Regions from separate parts of the Homo sapiens genome. Here region 1 is linked to region 2. Evidence: promoter capture Hi-C in 16 types of primary human blood cells and fetal thymus (Javierre and others, 2016). All regions are on one chromosome and are shown on one strand. Each heading gives the region's core, a stretch centred on a gene start or on the middle of the fragment in contact. The rest is flanking DNA. Distances are from core to core; before and after follow the strand shown. Region 1 has its middle 51 kb from the start of P4HA3-AS1. Region 2 holds the start of KCNE3 (potassium voltage-gated channel subfamily E regulatory subunit 3).

Evidence for each region. The method cuts DNA at HindIII sites, captures the fragments that hold promoters and counts their contacts. A CHiCAGO score of 5 or more calls a contact.
Region 1: a fragment that was not itself captured here is called in contact with the fragment with the promoter of KCNE3 in region 2 in 5 of 17 cell types (megakaryocytes, M2 macrophages, naive B cells and 2 more); the score reaches 5.8 in megakaryocytes.

What each region holds. Positions count from the first base shown.
Region 1 is chr11:74,257,111-74,263,926 of GRCh38, forward strand. It overlaps a transcript of P4HA3 not described here. Among named protein-coding and RNA genes, the nearest start is that of P4HA3-AS1, 51 kb to the right of the region's middle. The HindIII fragment of the contact is 2,228 bases long and covers 1,305-3,532 here.
Region 2 is chr11:74,466,142-74,473,071 of GRCh38, forward strand. KCNE3 (potassium voltage-gated channel subfamily E regulatory subunit 3) reads right to left here and starts at 1,408. Exons shown (of 3, transcript NM_005472.5): 1 at 1,257-1,408. The HindIII fragment of the contact is 7,698 bases long and covers 1-5,547 here.

The DNA.
Region 1 (6,816 bases), core at 1,169-3,668, 210 kb before region 2:
TTTCACAAGAGGTAGCATTTTTTCTTTCTTTTTTTTAGACAGTCTCCTCTGTCACCTAGGCTGGAGTGCAGCAGCACAATCTTGGTTCACTGCAACCTCTGCCTCCCAGGTTCAAGCAATTCTCCTGCCTCAGCCTCCCAAGTAGTTGGGGTTTCAGGTGCCTGCCACCACGCCCAGCTAATTTTTGTATTTTTAGTAGAGATGGGGTTTTGCCATGTTGGCCAGGCTAGTCTCAAACTCCTGACCTCGAGTGATCTGCCCGCCTCAGCTTCCCAAAGTGCTGGGATTATAGGAGTGAGCCACCACACCCAGCCAAGAGGTAGCATTTGAGTTGAGCCTTGAAGTATCACAAAGTGGAGGTGGAGGAGGAAGGGCAAGATATCTCAGAAGGAACAGCACAGACAAGCGCTGGAGACTTGAAAGTCAGCCTAGGAAGAAGACTGTGGCTGGAGTATGGGCCGAGATAGGAGAAGAGCCAGGAGAGAAGGTGGGAGTCAGGGCATAAAGGCCTTAAGTGGCAAGAATAAGGAGTTTCCAGAAGTTATTAAATAGGCATGACCCCATATAAAAAGACAAGGTCAGGTCTTTTTTATAAAGGAAAGTCACTCTGGTAGCCTGTGTAGATGGATTGGTGGGTGCCAGACATGAGGCCAAGAGGTCAGTAAAGAGGCAGTTGTAATTGGGCAAGGAAAAGACACAGGTATACTTAATTAGAACAGTGGCCACTGGGCTGAGAGAACAGGATAGTCTCATTATTTTGGAGGTGGAATGAACAAGAAAGAGACTAGTTAGATTTCAAAAGTGAGGGGCCAAGAACCCTTAAGTTGGATGCAGGGGCCTGTCATGAGAAGTGGGGGTTGGAAGTGAAAGGTCAAGATTTTACCAAGGGAAAAGCAAGAAGAGAGCCTACACTAGCAGCAGAGAAAGCAAAACGCAGTCACACTCCTCCCTGCAGTCACTGTTTTGTTTGCAATCTTGGAGCCAACTCTGCTGCTCCAGCTGGCCACCCCATCAGCAGCCAGAATCAACTCATTCTCAGTCTGGGGCCAGGGCTCAGAAAGTTATGTCAACTCAAGAGGCTCCCTTATTCCTCGAGCTGGCTTCCTCTCCCAGCAGTTTGCTAGAAAACTCCAGCCCATAGCCAGGCAAAACCTTGTAACCCAAGACTAGCAGAAAGGCTGGATTCTTCCAGGTGCAGGCAATAGGTGACTGAGGAGTGAATGGAGTGTTGACAGAGACAGTTTCTTCCTGATTAATGAGAATGATGCCATTCCATAATGACTTATAGAATGACTAATCAAACAAGCTTAGAATAACTGACATGATACAGTCTGTATCATTTATAAAGCACGTTTACAACCTTTGAGACCTCCTAACTCCTCTGGAGTGGGGAGGGCAGACAAATCAGCAGTGCCTCCTACAGATGAGGAATTCGAGGGTCTGACAAGGAAAGTGATTTGTCCAGGGTCATACCTTAGCACAATCTGGACTAGAGCTCAGGCCACCTGACTTCCAGACGAGTGCCTTTTTAGTCCCACACCATAGCAGAAGGAGAGGAGGGGTGGGGCAGGGGCATGGAGGACTAGGACCTGATAATGAGAGGAATGCTCCAAGCTCAGTTCAGCCTCCTACTAGCTGGGTGACCTCTGGCACATCACTTCCTTCAGAACTTCAGGTTCTGCATCCCAAAATGGGGGGATAATCCTTAATTCACTAGGTGTTATGAGGGTTAAATGAGACCTAAGTATCCAAGTATAGTAAAAGCTGCTGCCTGCAGTAATAAGGTGAAAAACAGTAAATGCCATGGTGCTAAGAAGATAAGGGGATTCATTCATCCTGACTGGGAATCCCCACAGGGCGGGGAGACCAAGGCACAGCAATTCTACCCCTACTCCTGCTGGGTAGGGCTGCTCAGGCAGAATTAGTGGAAGCCGGTGTGCCCCTGGGGCCTGAGAGCAGTGGCCCATGCTGCATCCTCCCTGGGACGTCCTTCTCAAAAAACTTTTGGCTGGGCACGGTGGCTCACGCCTGTAATCCCAGCACTTTGGGAAGCCAAGGTGGGCAGATAGTGAGGCTTGGCCAACATGGCGAAACCCCGTCTCTACTAAAAATACAAAAATTAGCCGGGTGTGGTGGTGGGTGCCTGTAATCCCAGCTACTCAGGAGGCTGACGCAGGAGAATTGCTTGAACCCAGGAGGCAAAGGTTGCAGTGAGTGGAGATCATGCATGCCACTGCACTCCAGCCTGGGCGACAAGAGCAAGATTCTGTCTCAAACAAAACAAAACAAAACAAACAAAAAACTTTTAACCAGGATTTTTTAAAAAAATAGTAAACTCTACCTAACACAGTATTTCTCATTTTAACCATGTGGAAATGAACAGTTCAGTGGCATTAATTACATTCACAAGGCTGTGGACCACACCACTATCTATACCCCAACTTTTTCATCATCCCCAGCAAGAACTCTGTACCCATTAAGCAATAACTCCTGCCTGCGTCCCCAAGCTCTATTCTGCTTTTGGTCTCTGAATTTGCCTATTTTAGGTAGCTCATAGGTGGAATCCTACAATATTTATTTTGTGTCTGGCTTATTTCATTTAGCATAATGCTTTCAAGTCCATCCATGTTGTAGTGTGTATCAAAATTCTGTTCCATTTTATGGCTGAATATTTTATTAAATGCATATTCCATATTTTGTTTAGCCATTCTCTTGACGGACATCTGGGTTTGCTTCCACCTTTTGACGATTGTGAATAAAGCTGCTATGACCATGGGTGTACAGCTATCATTCCATTCTTTCAGATACATACCTGGGAGTGGAATAACTGGGTCAGATGACAGTTCTATGTTTATCTTTCTGAGAAATCACCAATCTGTTTTCCACAGTGGCTGCACCATTTCACATTCCCACCAGCAACGCATGAGAGTTCCAGTTTCTTCACATCCGTAGTGACACTTATTTTCTGTTTTTTAATTGTATCCATCCTAGGAAGTGTGAAGTGGTTCCTTATTTGCATTTCAAGACTGCAAATGTGGAGGGAGAAGGAGGGCTTTAGGGTCAGAAATGTGGGCTGATGCTGGCTGGCCCAGGGACTTGGGGCTTGCCCTACCTGTCCCACCCCAACATCATAAGAGACAGAGGGACCCAGGGAGCTGGATAGGGAGGGAGGGTGTCTCTAGCCCCAGGCCCTGGAGGGTTCACAAGGCTTAGCAGCTCACACAGTGGCAGCAGGATAAAACCATTCATTCAGGGTGAGCCCGCTGACAATTCCTGTTCCCCTTTTTGTTGCAAGAGAGTAAAAAACAGAGATTCTAGAACCCCAGAATCTGGAGAGAATTGTGAGAGTTTCTCACAATTGGGAGGGGGGCCCCTTAGGGGACCATGTACAATTTTTAAAAGAAGATTTAATGTAATTTTTTATTTGGTAAATGGAAAAATAATGTTTTTCCAAAAAACAGATTACAGATCATAAAGTTAGACAAAATCTTTTCTCCTAGAGTGATATATCTGCATTTGTAAGACTAAAGAAAGCTTTAGGTTTATCAAAAGAGCACAAATGGTTTTATTAGGTTGGTGCAAAAGTAATTGTGTTTTTTTACCATTAAAAGTAATGGCAAAAATTGCAGTTACTTTTGCATCAACCTAAATAAGAGTTGGACAAATGTTAATCTAAGGACCTGTGAGTTAGGGTGATAAGCCTTCACACCTCCATATGCACATATGGACCTCCTTATCCTTCAATATGCAAACCAAAACTCACATGACCCCCATCACATGAAAGACATAATCATGTCTCACGACTTTGGTAATGACACAGGATTTTTCCCAGCTACTTGCCAACTGGGGACCTCCATGGCCAGCGATGCCCCCTGCCCAGGCCTCACGTGGCCACAGACCTGCCTCTAGAGGTGCCATGCCCACTGACCCACCTGTGCTATAGCTTGTACCCGCATTCAGGGGTTCTTGAGCTCTTGCCCCATGTCCAAGAAGAATGAGGATATGTGACAATTTGAAGAGTGAGGATGGGCAGAGAAGAATTTAAATGAGTGATGGAAAAGCTCTCAGTGGAGATGGGATGTGAGGGGTGGTCCCCAACCCCTGCAGACAGGTGGTTTCTCTATCTCTCTCTGCCTGGGTCTGGGGCTTTTTATGGACTCAGAATGGGGAGCGTGTGCTGACTGGCTTGTGAGTATGCAAAAAAGGTTAAAGCAAAGACACCATTCACAGTATAAAAAAAAATTAGGAAAGGGTAGGTATATGTAAAATAGGTGAAAGGTGGGGAGCAATCAGAGGAAAGCACACTGAATGGGAAAACAGGTTCTTAATCTGGTCCATGGGTTTACCTGGGACTTGTAGCTAGACTTTACACTGTCTTTGGCTTGAAGGTTGGGTTTCACTGGGGACCTGACCCTATCTGCCTAGGCATTTGTCTGCTTCCTGCCGTTATCAATAACATGTTATATGTTCCTCTTTCACTAGTATTTTGCTGGGATTGTAACTATTTTCACATATGTCAGTATTTTCACTAGTATTTCACTAGTATAGTCACTGTGGGTTCTCTTTTCTGGGAGCTCTTCAAGGTCAGAGACTCAATCAGTCATCCCAGCATCCTCAGCCCCAGCAAAGGTCCTGACCCAGAGGCAACATCAGGAATGCTTAGCTGAATGAATAAATGACAGGCCACACATGCAGTCTGTGCTCATTAAAATACCATCAAATATTGGTACCATTATTTGCCCACTGTGCAACTGTTCCAAGAAGCACCTATGGCGCTTTGGAAAAAGCATGGGTCTCTGAGCCAGGAAACCTTGCTTCTAGTCTTGAGCTGACACTGACACACAGCGTAATTATGGGCAAGTTGCTTTACTTTTCTGGGGCAGGGGAACTAACTACTGCCCTCCAGTCCCATAACGTGATAAGCAGATGAACAGGAGACATGGTGGTCATTATTTTTTAGTTATGCTCCATCTGAAAATGTGGTGGGCTTTAAAGATGGTAGAGATGTCATTATCTATGGGGCTCCATCTGAGCGATGCCCTTGAACCCTTAACCAAAAACACTGTCACCACGCAGGCATCTAGTGCCTAGAATCCACTCCTAGTACCTCATTCCTTTGAGATAATCCTTGATTACACCAGGCTACCCATTTCTAATGCAAACATGCCCCTGTCAAGGACAGGGAAACTCTGTCACTCAAACCTTAGGGAGAATGGGCAGATCAAGCACTTGATAGGAGGGGTCCTGTGACCAATGAAGTGAATATAAAGAGGGATGTGGCAGAGAGAAAGAAGGGAAAGAGGCAGGCTCTGATTCCAAAGGGGGAGAAAATTGTGGGGGTCCACAGTGGGGAAGAGAGAAAAGTCCAGAAAGAGGTTAGAAGCAGTTAGGGGAACGGGGAGACTTTCCCCCAAGCTCCAGATCCTGGTTCTGCCCCTGGCTGTGTGAACTCAGTGATGTCTTTTCTTTAAACCCCATTTTCCTCCTTTGCCAAAAGAGATGATAACTGTTGTGAATATGATACAGGAGAGTGATCCATGGCAAAGAGTAGGCACATATGTTTGTTTCCTCCCCCTAGCCCTTAGCCGATTTCATAGTTCTACTGAGTACACAGCAATCTGCAGGTAAATGTCCCTCTCTCCCCACCCCAGCTCCTACACTCAGGCTCCTTTGGCTTCTCCCAGCTTGAGCAGCCAAGGCCCCCAACAGGAGACTCTTTCAGTGGTTCCATGAAAGGGCAGTTTGTGCTGCCGTTGGCATTACTGGACAAGAGTCCCCCAGAATCAACACCCTCTTGCTTCCTCCTCCCAGACAGCTCTCTCTGCTCCCCTGTTGTGTGTGAAAGAGGGACAAGCAGGGTGGCCGCTGCACCTTGTGCTCTACAGGCATGCATTCTTACTCTTTCCATGTGTTCCTGGGGCTCCAACATGGATACCCTCAGCATATTCTGGCCATAGGGCCCTACCCTCTCTCCAAGCTCCCACAATCCTTAGGATGAGCAGCACACAGCTTCCCACTTGATTCTATCCAATTCTCACTTACATTTGGGCATGGACCCGCTCTGCCTTAAGGGCAGTGAGCAGGTCGTCTTCTTTTCTTGGATTCTCATGGAGCAGCTAGCATGGGCAGATCACTCGACAAGTGTTCACCGTTCATTTGTGGAACTGATTCATTCCTATATTCAACAGATATCTACATCTGACAAGAGTTCTTAACCATTAGGCATCAGTGGCACAAGGGATAGACCTTTTCAATACCTGGGAAAATGTTGGAGACCCCCCCTGCCCTAAAATTATTGGCTCCAAAAGATTATTGCCAATGGAAGCACAGAAGTGACAGCAAAATAACATGGAATGCAGACAACAGAGGGTTAGTTAAGGTCTTTGGTGACAGATTGACATGGATTTGAATCCTGCCTCTGCTATTTTATACTTGGATGACTTCAGGCAAGTTATATGTTCTCTGACTCAGTTTCCCTCATCTATAAAATGGGCATAATAGAACTCATCTCATTTTGAGGCTTGAAGGAGACAAATACACCTAAGTTCTCAGCACAGTGCCTGGCCTATCATAAATGATGTGGTTACAAATGATAATGATAATAGACTTTAATGTAAAGAATATTATCTGGAATGAGGCTTGCAAGTGATAAGTAGTGCAGTGCCAGAAACCCCGGTTGGACAAGGCTGTTGGAAAACAGCTCACAGAACAGTGCAAGAAAGAAAGAAACAGGCTGGGTACTGTGGCTCATGCCTGTAATCCTAGCACTTTGGAGGCTGAGGCGGGAGGATCACTTGAGCTTAGGAGTTCGAGAAA
Region 2 (6,930 bases), core at 158-2,657:
ACTAGGCCAACACGTCTAGCCGTGCGTTTTGGTTAAGTAACTTTATCACTCTAAGTCTATATCCCTCTAGGCCTCATTTTCCTCATCAGTAAGATGGAGTTTCTTGTCTTGCTTCCCTCTTAGAAGGTATTTTGAGCACTCGCACATTAAGTTTATGGATGTGCTTTGAGACGTATAGACTGAGTGAGGGATGGAGAAGGTGATGGTTATCATCTCAAGGAGTCAAGAAAATCTGAAAGCAGCTTCTAGGCCCCCAGCATGGGTCTTCCTCCATCAGGAACAGACAAAGTGGACGGATGCAAGGAAATAAGGAGGAGCTCACACGTTTACAACATGCCTTTGTAGGTGAAGTGGAGAGAGCCCTGGGCTAGGACTGAGGAAACTTGGGTTCTAATTCTGTTTGGTCTCTGTTGTAACCTTAGGTAAATCATCTCCCCTGGGGCATCAGTTTCCCTATATGCAAATTAGTGGAGAGGATTTTAGGAGGGATACTCTGGTGGGCTTTCACGCAAGAACTAAACTCATTTATTTTCGAGATAAGAGACTCTGAGGTCCAATCCCCCTTTCCCCTTCTGTCCCATGGGGTATGCAGGCAACAGGAGCAGGAGGCCCGTTTTACAAATGGTGGCCCAGGAAAAGCGAGCACAAGGCGCAGAGCTGAGGGATGACTGCCCGGGTTTACACAGCCTGTAAACTAGAACTCAAGTCTCCCGACTCCCAGCCTCGACCTATGTTACTGGCAGCAGAAGATGCTTTTGGGAGTCACCAGGTTTCCCGGGACTAGGTCAGACAGGGTGAAGGACACAGTGAGGTGTAGAGGGAATGGGCAAGTCAGCTCCGCAGAGCCGGTGGCTCCAGCCAAATGAGACTGTGCTGGGTCCTGAAATGTCGTTTCTGCGTGTGCACTGGCTGCCAGCTGCAAGTGTTCGCTTGCACGTCTGTGGGTGTGGAGGAACTTTTCTTGTGGCCGTCTTGAGGGCTGGGAATAACGGCGCAAGTCCCCACGGTTTCCAGACGGGGCGCGCAGAGCCCAGCTCCCTACTCCCACATGCTGCTCCACGATCACTGCGCTCGGGAGGATCGGGGAGGATCCGGGAGGACTAGCTTGGTATTTGCAGCGCCCACCCCTCCCCCACTCCCCCTCGGTTCCACAGTCTCACGGAGAGCGCGCCGTGGCCCTTGGAAGGGAGGCGGGAAGACCCCTCATTTCCACCCCAGGCCGCAGCTCAGCCTTCCCAGCTGGGTGGGTGCCTTACCTGCCTCTCAGCAAGGCTCCGGGGCGCCCGTTTGCTCGCTGGACACGGCGCCCTCTGACCGAGGGTGGCCCAAGCGCTGCGACCCTGTGCATTCCACCAGCCCCGTTCCACTCCGCGGGTGCCCAGCACCGCCCAGCGCGCTCTCTGGCTCTGGGCTCCCACCCGCGCTCGGCTCCCTTTTCCCTCCCCCGGGCGTCCCCTCCCCCTGCCCCGCCCGGGCCCCAGCACACCCACTTCTCCCCGGGCTGGCCTGGAGTGCCTCCGCCCAGCTCCTTGGCCTCCCCCGGCTGTGGGCTCCGACCCTTCCGTCCCCTGCAGCGCCTGCTTCCTGGACCAGAGACCGAAAGCCTCTCGCTCCGCTGGGCCTCAGCAAGCCCAGCATGAGGCCGATCTCCAGGAGTCGGTTTTGCTCCAGTGTGGCTGTGTGGTGGTGGGCGAGTCGCTGCCCCTCACTGGGCCTTGGCCTGGCTGTAAAGTTGGTACAGTTCCTCCATGCATTCTTCACAGGCTTATGGTTGAGGTCAGATGAGACCTTTGAGTCCAAAGTATTAAAACCAAAGGGTCAACAGCAAAATAATATGATTCTTACACAAACTCTTTTCCACACAGGACGCAGAGGCCCAGTTGGAGAAGGGATTTGCCCAGGTAGCAGAGCCCAGACCCAAAATCCACTACACACCCCTCTGTCTCTGAGTAGCACCAGCAAATGTTTCCTCCACCAAGCCTCAAAAGTTCGTGACAGTGCCTGACCAACTTGTGTTCAGCCGCACCTTACTCATCTCTGTCCCAGAACAGTTTATTTTCCCACCACCATGCCCTCACTCAAACTGTTGTTTCCTTGCTGGTGACATTGCAGGCTTCAGAGAACTGGGGCAGCCGGGGCAGCTGAGGAATAAGAGCCAGGAGGCTAGTGGCAGAGGAAGGGACAGTTGCAGAGAATTTCTCCGGGGGACCCTGTGGGGTGCCCTTTTACCAGCTCACTGCCTCAGAATAATTAATAACAGCCTCAGGCCAGCTCTTTCACTCCCTTGCAAAGGTCTGCTCCAGGATATCTGAAGCACATACTCTCAATTACAGAATCCCAGAATATATCTAAGAAGTGCTATCGTTTTAAAAAGACCTACTACAAGGTGGGTATATTGTATATTGTATACAATATACAAGGTGGGTATATTGTACCCACCTTGTTTTGACCCTACTATTCCTTTTTCTCAGTCTGGAGATCACCTCTCAGAAAAGTCATCCTAATCACCTAAGCATGCAATCTCAGTTTCCTTCCTTCCTTCCTTTCTTTCTTCCTTCCTTCCTTCCTTCCTTCCTTCCTTCCTTCCTTTAGACAGGATCTCACTGTGTCACCCAGGCTGGAGTGCAGTGGAGTGATTATGGCTCACAGCAGCCTTGAACTCCTGGGCTCAGGTGATCCTCCTCCCTTAACCTCCTGAGTAACTGGGACACACCACTATGTCTGGCTAATTTTTGTATTTTATAGAAATTGGGTTACTCCATGTTGCCCAGGCTGATCTCGAACTCCTGGGCTCAAGTGACCTGCACACCTCCACCTCCCAAAGTTCTGGGATTACAGGCATGAACCACTGTGCCCATCCTGCAACCTCAGTTTTCAATCTGCCTAAGAATCCCCTGGGGAGCTTGTTTTACTAAGTAGACTTTTGGGCTCCACTCCAGAGGTTCTAATTCAGGAAATCTGGAGTAGAGCCTAGAAATCAGCATTTTCAAACAAGATTTCCAAATGACTCTGATGCAAATGGTTCTTGAGACTAGCCATGAGGAAGCAGTCCTGGCTTGGTCAGGGTTCTTTCTCAGATCCTGCCCACGGCCTTGCATTTACTCTGTAGGACTGTCTATGACAGTTATAGAAAGTAACCATTTGTCCACCCCATCTGCTAGGTTGTGAGTTCTTTGAAGATAGGGATTGTCTTTTGTTCTAATAAAATCTTAGAACCAAAGTCTTAGAATCATATCATCTTAGGGTTCTGGAATGTAAATTGGAAGAACTCTCAAGAGTTTCCTAGTCAAATCCCTCATGAGCCTAACAGATTCTCCCATTTCTTTATTTTTGGAAACATATCACCCAGGCTGGAGTGCAGTGGTGTGATCTCAGCTTACTGCAAACTCTGCCTCCCAGGTTCAAACAATTCTTGTGCCTCAGCCTCCTGAGTAGCTGGAATTACAGGTGTACCACCACACCCAGCTAATTTTTGTATTTTTAGTAGAGACGGGGTTTTGCCATGTTAGCCAGGCTGGTCTCGAACACTTGACCTCAAGTAATCTGCCCGCCTTGGCCTCCCGAAGTGTTGGGATTACAGGTGTGAGCCACCACACTCTGCCTCTATTTCATTTTTGAAATGAGGCTATCCAGCTTCTCTTGCACACCTCTAGGGAGCTCAATGCCTGCAAGGCAGCCAGACAGCTCTGATTGTTAGGATGTTCTCACATTTTAACAAAAACTGCTTCCTGTTGACTTCTACCCTTTGGTCCTTGCACCCATTGGAGACATGAAATAGAAGTCTGATCTGTGTTCCCTTTTACAGTCTTTCAAGAATTTAAGGTCGGCCAGGAGCAGTGGCTCATGCCTGTAATCCCAACACTTTGGGAGGCTGAGGTGGGTGGATCACTTGAGCTCAGGAGTTCAAGACCAACCTGGATAACATAGTGGGACTTCATTTCTACAAAAAATAAAAAAATTAGTTGGGCATGATGCTATGTGCCTGTAGTACCAGCTACTTGAGAGGCTGAGGTGGGAGGATTGCTTGAGCCCAGGAGGTTGAGGCTGCAGTGAGCCAAGATTGTGCCACTGCACTCACTACAGCCTAGACAACAAAGTGAGACCCTATCTCAAGAAAAAAAAAATTTGCTGGGCGTGGTGACTCACGTCTGTAATCCCAGCACTTTGGGAGGTGGCGGATCACGACGTCAGGAGTTCAAGACCAGCTTGCTCAATATGGTGAAACTCCGTCTCTACTAAAGATTAAAAAAAAAAAATTAGCTGGGTGTGGTGGCATGCACCTGTAATCCCAGCTACTTGGGAAGCTGAGGCAGAAGAATCGCCTGAACCTGGGAGGCAGAGGTTGCAGTGAGCTGAGATTGCGCCACTGCACTCCAGCCTGGGTGACAGAGCAAGACTCTGTCTCAAAGAAAAAAAAAAAAAGAATTTAAGGTCTATCCTCTACTCCCCCTTCTCTGGGGTGAGGATAAGGCAGCAACCATGTCAGGGAAGGCAGCTGGCCATTGGAAAGGGGGCTGAGCTGCCTCATGTTCCCCACCTGTGCCCTGGAGCCTTGCCAGCAGGCTTAGATGAAGTGATGCGTTTAATATGCCTGGAGCCGGGCCTAGCATGAGGCATAGGCTTAATAAATGGCAGCTTCTATTGTCACTGGATGAGAAAGAGCAGGAGGAAACAGAGTTCCTGTCTCTGGGGATCTCTAGTCTGACAGGGACTTCAAGGAGCTCCCTAATCCAAAGACATTGGAGACATGGCCCTGACCCTGGGAAGATGGGGGAGTGGGGTGGATGGAATTTGAGGGTAGGATGAGCTGATTGAAGGGATGAGGGGAAGACTCACCTAGAGACATGCCACAAACAAGTCTTGGCTTAAATGTTACCTTCTTGGTGAGGCCTTCCCTGAGCATCCAATCTATAAATGCTAATTCCTCCCTTCTCCTGCCTCCCTACCTCCATCCCCTGCCTTGTTTTTCAGTAACACCTTAACAGATGATTCTGATATATTTCACTTACTTAAAAAAAAAAGTCTTTTGTTGTTGTTCTTGCTGCATCTTCAACTGAGGCCCACAGCTCCCGCTGCCCTCAGCCCTATCTTAGAGCTCTCCCTGAGTCTGGATTCCTGTAACCACCTCCTTCTCTTTCCTCTTCAGTCCTAGGGGTGGTAGTGATGCCCAGGTGCTTTCAGCTCCAGGATACCTCACAACCCCTGTGGTTTCCCCACTCCCTGCCCATCTCTGAATAGAGCCTTCTTGAATTATCCATATGAGATGGCCATCTTCTTCCTGAAGGACCTGGCTGGCACAGAAGCCCACTTTCTCTGCTCCTACAGCCCCTCGGGCTTTCCTCTCACACAGCACTTACCATTCTGTGTTACAATTGTCTCCTCTATTGGTTGACTCCACACCTAGAACATAAATTCATTGAGGGCACTAAGCCATTCCCAGCACCAAGCCTAGCACAGAGGAGATCTTAGTAAAAATTTGTTGAATATATGAGTGAGTGAATAATGGTCATGAGAGGGAAGATCCCTAGGAATTATGTTATCAGAGAAAGCTTCCAAGAAGAGATAGAACCTGAGAGAGCCTCAAAGGTCAGTAGGAGACTTTTTCAACCTCTGGGCCAAACCTTTCCTCTGAGCATCGAACTCCCATATCCAACAACCTCCCTGATGTCTCTGTTTGGATAATGTGGGGACTGGGACTCTTGACTTCTTTCCCTTTCACTTTCCTATGTCTCAGTCAATGGCACCATCATCCATCCAGTTCCCTGTTTGTTTTCTTCATAGAACTCAACCCAATCTTCTGTTTATCTGTTTGGGGCCTGCCTTTCCCATTGGACTGGAAGCGCTATGAGAACAGAGACCAGTTGTTTCTTTTCCACCTTGGTATCCCTTGAGTTACATCTTGATTTTTCAGTAACGCCTAACCAGATGACTCTGATATATTTGATGTTCCTAACTTAAGGTCTAGGAAGTGGGGGGAAAATGTTGAGAGGTAGGGTGAGTGTGGATGGTACCTGTCAACAGTTTCAGAAGACTGGGTCACCAGGGGGAAATGCAGTGTGACTCACAGAGGAAGTTTCACAGTCACATCAAGTTACTTTATTCTATTATTCATGAGGAGCCCGTGTCTGTGCCTTCAGGGTCTTATCTCCTCCTGGCTTGTCAGTTTGGTCCTTAATCCCTTGCATTCCCCAAATCTGAAATGCTACAGCCCAGAAATCAGCTCGTTCCCTCTTCTCTATCCCCTCTTCTTCTCTCTCTTCCAAATCCCTCTCTAAGGGGAGTGCTACATCCTTCTCACTGATGTGTTTATGAGGTGTCTGAAGATGTGCGTCTCATTCTGATTCCAACAGCAAATATTCATCTTTGGCGGAACTACTTGTCCTCTCTGGACCTGTTTCCCTCTCTGCACAGGATGGTGTGAGACTGTCTCATCTCTAGGGCTCCTGCCAGATCTGACCTTCTTCAAAACTCAGCCTTGTGGGGAGGGTCAGGCACCACACCACAGTTCTTAGCTTGGACAGGTATGGTGGCTCTTCATAGTTGCAAAAGCATCTTCACTCTTGCTGTCTCATTGGGTCCTTTGGAGTCTAGACTGGAGTTCAAACAGTGGACTTGCCTCTAACTACATGAATTTGGGCAATTTCTTTTTCTGAAACTCAGTTTCCTTTTCTGAAAACAGGGTCAGTAATACATCCCTGTGGATTTGTTATTTGCTGCAAATATTGTGCTTAGAACAGCTCTGGACCCTCGTGAGTTGGGCTGGAGAGAGGCAAGTGAGGGGCCGGGCACGGTGGCTCATGCCTGTAATCCCGGCACTTTGGGAGGCTGAGGCGGGTGGATTACCTGAGGTCAGGAGTTCAAGACCAGACTGGCCAACATGGTGAAACCTATCTCTATTAAAAATACAAAAAATTAGCCAGGCGTGGTGGC